2 separate regions of the Homo sapiens genome follow, and region 1 is linked to region 2. Evidence: promoter capture Hi-C in 16 types of primary human blood cells and fetal thymus (Javierre and others, 2016). All regions are on one chromosome and are shown on one strand. The core of a region is centred on a gene start or on the middle of the fragment in contact, and the rest is flanking DNA. Distances in the headings are between cores, read along the strand shown. Region 1 has its middle 18 kb from the start of PDE8A. Region 2 holds the start of SEC11A (SEC11 homolog A, signal peptidase complex subunit).

Region 1 (3,717 bases), core at 723-3,222, 250 kb before region 2:
CAGCTTAACAGCCTAATCTTGTGAGATCCTCAGTATGTGGCTTCCACTTGGGGCTCCACAATGGCCTCTATCACACTTACATTCTAGCCAGAAGGAAAGAGGAAGGGATGGAGAATGTGACCAACTATCCTGGCTTGCCCAGGACCGAGAGATTTCCTAGGATACAGGACTCTTAGTGCTAAAACCAGTAAAGTCTCAGGCAAACCAGGACAAGTTGGTCATCCTAGAAGAAGTGCATGGCCCTCTCTTAGGTATACTTTGGAAGTTATATAGCATGTTGCTTTCATCTCATTGGCCAAAACTTAGTTATGTGCCCCCATCCACCGCAAAGGAGGCCAGGACATGTTGATTTTATTCTGGGTGGCCATATATCCAACTATACACTTATAAGAAAAGAAGGGAAAATGGCTATTGGAATCAACAAGCAGTCTCCAGCCTAAATCCAGAGAGGAGACTTCCATGTATTGCCACCAAAAAACTGCCTTGCAGGTCTGTATTAGTCCATTCTCATACTGCTATGAAGAAATACTTGAGACTGGGTAATTTATAAAGGGAAGAGGTTTAATTGACTCACAGTTCTGCAGGGCTGGGGAGGCCTCAGGAAACTTACAATCATGGCAGAAGGGGAAGCAAACACATTTTTCTGTACATGGTGGGAGGAAGGAGAAGTGCCAAGCAAAGGGGGAAAGGCCCTTTATAAAACCATCAGATTTTGTGAGAACTCACTCAACTCACTATCATGAGAACAGCATGGGGGTAACCACCCCCAATACTCAATTACCTTCCACCAGGTCCCTCCCATGACACGTGGGGTTATGGGAACTATAATTCAAGATGAGATTTGGGTGTGGGGACACAGCCAAACCATATCAAGGTCCAAGCACTGGCATTCCATACTGAGGATCTTCAAAGGCAAGGAAGTCTCAAGCCTTACAGGTAAGACAAAGAGGGAAGCATCAATCATTCCCTCCTGCTCCTATGTTGGCAGTCTGCTTCCAGCTGCAGACGCACTTGCTTTTCCAGCCTCCCTTGCAGCTACAGCATGGGCCTCTGGCTTAATCCCAGGATAGAAAGAAATATCTGCTGGGGCTTCTGTGGAAAGATTCTTCCCATCTAATGAATGCATGGGAGGAAAAGCCTTTTCTACTAGTCATGGCCCTGTCTGGGTGTAATGTCCAGAACTTCAGCAGCCATCTTGTGACCACAAGGGGTCAATCCAAGGATAAAATCAAAATAACAGAGCAGAGAGGTGGCAAGAGCCAGGGTCCCTGGTACCATCATTGATGCCTGGATTAACCCTGGAGCCACTTACCCCTGGAGTTGCTACTATGTGAGATATTAAAAATCTCACATCATGTAAACCATTTTCTATTGAATGCACTGTTACTTGCAATTGATATTGGGTAATGTCAATCATTCTAACCAATAAAGAGCATGTCTCCTACTGAGTGAGAGGAAGGAATAGGTGATCTCTGTGCAGCTGCTCCTGCTGGGAAGATCTGTTGGGGCAATGAGTGCCCTGAAAGGAGTGGGCAATCTTCCTTCAATGTCTTCCTTGCCTCCTTCCCTGTTTCTCTTCTTTTCTTCTTCCTTCCCTCCTTCCTTCCATCCTTCCTTCCCATGCCCTTATCGTTTCCTTCCCCTTCCCTTCCTCCCTCACTAGACATCAAGCCCTAAAGATACTGTTTTAAACAAGATGGACACATTTCCTTCCCCCAGAAGCATACTGACATGTATGAGATAGATGATTAAACAAGACTTCACAAGGTATGACAGGGGCCAAGACAGGAGAATCAGGGTGCTGTGGGAGGTCCAGAACAGACTCCTAACTCAACTTATAAGTTCAGATGGCTTCCTAGAGAAGACAGCCACATTGGGTCCTGAGGGATGAGTAGGAATTAGGTACATGAAAGAAAGGAGTGGTCAAGCGTCTGGAGCAGCCTGTGGAAGAGCCGAGAGGAAGGAGAGTGCAACTCCTTCAAGGGACTGAAAGCAGCTCAGTGAGGCTGGAGCTAGGACAGAGGAGGCGCTGTGCTAGGAAATGGCTAGAGGTGAAATAGGGGGTCATCAGGGGCTGGATCTAAGCATCCTCATGAGCCATGATGAGGAGCTGGCACTTTGCCTGAAAGCACCAACTGGACCATCTGCCTCTTAACCACCCACTTGCTCTGCATGGCTCAGCTGCTGTCCAGGTCTCATCCTGGGTGAACCCCATCATGGACTGGCCTGGTGTACAATGGCTGATAGACAGGCTCGGGGGGGCAGCTGGACCCCAGGTAGGTACCCTCCCTGGCCATGCCAGAGCTGAAGAGAAGCCAGCCCTGTCCCATACTGTGTTGTGGTGTGATGGGCCACTTTGTGAAAGGGTGTCCCACCCTCCGCCACGTGTCCACCACTCGCTATGACTGTAGTCCCTTCCCTGCTTCTGAAACTGGACTCCTGCTTCCCCACCCCTCTATCTAGTGAGGGAATATTCTAACAGCCCATTCTAGCAGGACCTCAGGATGGAAGATTGGAAGCTCCCTGTCCAGGGAAACACAAGTGGATGCCCACTCCTGGGGAGAGGGTGTATAAAGATCCTCAGCTATGGGTCACATGGGGCATCCAGTGGTGGTAGGCACTGCTTGTTGGTGAGCATGAGAGTAAGGGGTGTGGCTAGGGATAGCCCGAGGGATTGCAAGGCTGGAGTGGTTTGGCCTGTTTCTTGATTTTTTCTAATTCAATTTAAATCTGACTCTAAGCCACTATCCCACTGAGCTGGCAAGAAATTCAATCTCAGGCATATCGTTGAGTCTCCCTCCCCCATTCTCAAGATTTTGCCAAGGTCCCAGGGTCTTAGGCAGTGCTGAGGCGTCAGGCTGGCTCCACTGGTCACACTAGCAAATGCAGAACATCCATCATCCCAGCCTTGTGGCACCTCAGGCTTGGTGGCTCTGCTGATTTGGAGTCACCCTTGGAATGTGGGAATTGTGAGGGAGGGGCGAAAGCTCTGTGCTCAGATCCACTCTCCCTGAGTGTACCAGGCAGCCATGTCCTCTAAGGCCTTGTCACCTTTGGACACTGCCTAGAGTCAAGGTTTGAGACCTTTCCTCCCTACCCCCAGCCCTAGTCACACTCTGCCCCTTTCCCTTCTGGGGTAAAAATCTTTTCCTCTCCCTTCTTCCTGCTCTCAAAGGCCCACCCTTGGCCTGGTGCAGTGACTCACATCTGTAATCCCAGCACTAGGAGTTTGAGACCAGCCTGGGCAACATGGTGAAACCCCATCTCTACTAAAAATACAAAACATTGGCCAGGCATGGTGGCATGCACCTATAGTTCCAGCTACTCCAGAGGCTGAGGTGGAAGGATCACCCGAGCCCAGGAGATGGAGGTTGCAGTGAGCCCTGATCATGTCACCATACTCCAGCCTGGGCGACGGAGCAAGACTCTATCTCAAAAAACAAAAAATCATAGGCCCACCCTTTCTTTCTTCTCTTTCCAGGACACCTTACAGAGTCTCTATAAAGAGTCAACGAAGGCTGGGTGCAGTGGCTCACACCTATAATCCTAATACTTTGAGAGGCTGAGAAGGGAAGATCACCTGAGGCCAGGAGTTCGAGACAAGCCTGGGCAACATAGCGAGATCTCTGTCTCTACAAAAAAGAAAAATTAGCCGGGCATGGTGGTGAGCACTTGTAGTCTCAGCTACTCTGGAGGCTTAGGCGGGAGGATCACCTG
Region 2 (3,449 bases), core at 113-2,612:
TTTCGAGGATACTACAAAGAGTTCCAGTATATCCTTCATTCATCTTTCCCTAATGGGAGAGAAGGATTATTTTGAAAAAAAAAAAAAAAAAAAAAAAAGAGAGAGAAATGATACCAAGTAATCCAGCTTTAGTCTTTGTTGACTGAAGTGCGTATTAGGAGCTTTGGCCAGTCAAAGCAAAAGGTAGCGAAAAGATAGTCACTTCAAGGTGTCCAAGTTAAGAAAACCAGGAGGTAGAATTCAAGGAGACCATGTCAAATCCTGTCAGCAAAGTCAAGGTCAGAAAGGAAGCCACTTCCTAACGACCCACACCACTGGTGGTCTCATCACGCTGTTGCACCATTTGGATGTTTTCTAATTCTCCCGGGCTGTTTTCTCTCCAATTGGACTGTAAACTCCTGGCAGGCTCAGGCAGTGCTCGGAAGGTCTCTCACACGGTCCAACCTTACGCGAAAAGCACTTATTGAAAGCACCTCGATGGCCGGGCGCGGTGGCTCACGACTGTAATCCCAGCACTTTGGGACGCCAAGGCGGGCGGATCACCTGAGCTCAAGAGTTCGAGACCAGCCTGGCCAACATAGTGAAACCCTGTCTCTACTAAAAATACAAAAATTAGCCAGGTTTGGTGGCGCGCGCCTGTAGTCCCAGCTACTTGGGAGCCTGAGGCAGGAGAATCGCCTGAACCCGCGAGGCGGAGGTTGCAGTGAGCTGAGATTGCGCCACTGCACTCCAGCCTGGGCGACACAGTGAGAAAGAAAGGAAAGAGAGAAAGAGAAAGAAAAAGAGAAAGAGACAGACAGACAGAAAGTAAGCAAGCAAGCAAGCAAGCACCTCAACAGAGACAGAGACGTAAAGAAAGAGAGACAGAGACAGAAAGAAAGAAAGCACCTCCTCAGCTTCCCATAGCGCAGGAGACTTGCTCGACCAGAGAACCTACGGTCAGACGACACATCCACTGCCACACCCATACCCAAGCCGGGACGCGGAACCGCTTCTACCCGCCCACACCGGAGAGGTTGCTCGCGATTGGCCGGGCGGGCACAGAGGCCCGCCTTCCGAAGGTGGCAGAGCAGCCTCCCCAACTAAGCCTGGGTCGCCGCCTCGGTGAAGGGCCGCGGGGCCGAGCGCGGGAAGTGGCGTCCAGTCGGTTTTTGGCAGGCGAGAGCCAGAGCGTGAGAACCCTCCCACGGCGAGGCCAAGCCCTGAGACTGGACTAGCAAGGTCGTGAGTCTCTCTGTCAGCTCTCCGCAGCGAAGGGGCGCGGGGGGCGGGGACCGTGCCCGACCGTGCCAGCTCCCGCCCCGGAAGCGGAAGTGCAAGCACTGCGGGGTCCTGTCCAGTGTGAGCCCGACCCGAGCTCCAGTAGTTCCGCCCGCTGGTCATCGCGCCCTTTCCCCTGCCGGTGTCCTGCTCGCCGTCCCCGCCATGCTGTCTCTAGACTTTTTGGACGATGTGCGGCGGATGAACAAGCGGCAGGTGAGCTTGTCCGTCCTCTTTTTCTCCTGGCTCTTCTTGTCCCTTCGAGGCTGCTGCTGCGGGGCCCGGCGGACCCCAGGGTTCTGGTGTGAGGGTCTGAGCTGGTCTGATACCCGGGTCATTCGCTTTCTTTGGAGACTGTGGCCAGAGGCCGCCTTGTCCGCCTCATTATTTTTAACCCCGAACTGATTCAGGGCCTACCGGGGGCGGGGCGGGAAGCGGTGTCTTCACGTTCCATTCCTCCCACTGAGGCAGGGGAGCAAATGGAAACCGTACGCGCTTGAAGTGGGAGTTGGGGTTGCTTATTGTTTTAGTCATTTTAAGGCGGCGGACTCTTGATTTCTCCAGTCGGAGCGACTCCAGGTGGTTTCGGGAGAGACGAGGTTTAGCCGGTTTCTGGGGCGCTCAGGAAGGCGATTGGAGGCCCCACAAAAACCGTTTTGCTGCTTTCAGCTCCTTGCAACCCTTTAGTAGAGCTGAACCGTAGCGGGCTGCACCGACTTTGACTTGGACCACTCTGGGCTCCGAGTTGGAACAGTTACACTACTTGCCCTTGCGTCCGCTTAGCACTAAGGCGGCAGCCCTCGGAATCTATGGTTTTACAGTCCAATATCAGTGCCACGGGGATCTGGAAATGTAGGTCTCCTGATTTTGTCCTTACACTTTACTTTGATCTTCTAGATCGTATGCCAAATAGTACTGAGAATATTGTTGTAATTATTTAGTCCTTAGAAAAGGTTGTTCTGTTTTATCTTTTGCGCCTAGTGTGTCTGTAGAGCCTAGTTTTGCTGCATCGGACTTTTTTTTTGTTTTAAACAGTATTTTACTGTTATGATTATCCTGATGTCACCATTAAGGATTTTTTTTCCTTGGACTTGCATTTTTTGTACTTATAACTGCCACTTAGGGAAGTAGATACACAACCTTTCCTTACTCCCCTTCAGGCCTTAGCTAGCTCAGTGTCAATTCTGTCAGTCAGAATTGAGCATTCTATAAAAATTGCGCAAACGTTACTTTATGTCTTTATGACAACACTTCAAATTTTTACTTGTATAGTGTTGTCTTTTTTTAATCCATATTTGGATTTCTAGATGCCACAGATATTTCTCTGAGGAAAGTATTTATTTTGAGTCTGATATTTATTGTACTCTATGCTAGGTACAATGAGAGAAATGCAAAGATAGTTAAGAAAGACTCGGCCTTCAAGGAGCCTAAATGTGTAGAAAAGGACTAAGGCAAAACAATAACTTTTTTGAGCTCTTGCCATGTGTGAAGCACTTTATACACCTGTAAGGTAGGTAACGTTGTTCTTATTAAACATGAAGAAAATGAGACTTTGTGAGAAGCAATACAGTATAGAAGTTAAGAATATGGACTCTAAAGCTAGATTTCAGAGGTTTGAAGTAGCTCTGCTACTTACTGGCTGTGTGACTTTGAGCAGATTACTTAACCTGTCTGTGCCTATGTTTACTTTTATTGTTGTAAAAAGATATGCAACATAAAATATTCCATTTCAACCGTTTTTACGTGTATACTTCACTGACATTAGTTGCATTCACTATGTTGTGCAAACGTAGGGTCGCTATGAAGATTAAATGAGTTAATTCATATAAAGCCCTCAGAAGAGTGTCTGGCACATGGTGAGTATTGGCTGTACTGTGGTCGATGTCATTGTTAGAGAGCTTTAGTGATTTGCTTAAGACAGAAGGTAGACTGGGTGCGGTGGCTCACGCCTGTAATCCCAGCACTTTGGGAGGCTGAGGCAGGCGGATCACAATGTCAAGAGATTGAGACCATCCTGGCCAACATGGTGAAACCCCCTCTCTACTAAAAATACAGATACTAGCTGGGCCTGTTGGCGCACGCCTGTAGTTCCAGCTACTCAGGAGGCTGAGGCAGGGGAATCGCCTGGGAGGTGGAGATTGCAGTGAGCTGAGATCGTGCCACCGCACTCCAGCCTGGTGACAGAGTGA

Evidence for each region. Contacts are between HindIII fragments. The CHiCAGO score rates a contact against its expected background, and 5 or more counts as called.
Region 1: a fragment that was not itself captured here is called in contact with the fragment with the promoter of SEC11A in region 2 in 1 of 17 cell types (fetal thymus); the score reaches 5.6 in fetal thymus.

What each region holds. Positions count from the first base shown.
Region 1 is chr15:84,962,173-84,965,889 of GRCh38, reverse strand. It overlaps a transcript of SLC28A1 not described here. Among named protein-coding and RNA genes, the nearest start is that of PDE8A, 18 kb to the left of the region's middle. The HindIII fragment of the contact is 8,662 bases long and covers 1-3,717 here.
Region 2 is chr15:84,714,052-84,717,500 of GRCh38, reverse strand. SEC11A (SEC11 homolog A, signal peptidase complex subunit) reads left to right here and starts at 1,362. Exons shown (of 6, transcript NM_014300.4): 1 at 1,362-1,476. The coding sequence starts at 1,426. RefSeq lists enhancers at 14-577, 699-808, 829-948, 578-1,143, 1,619-1,688 and 1 more. The HindIII fragment of the contact is 22,021 bases long and covers 1-3,449 here.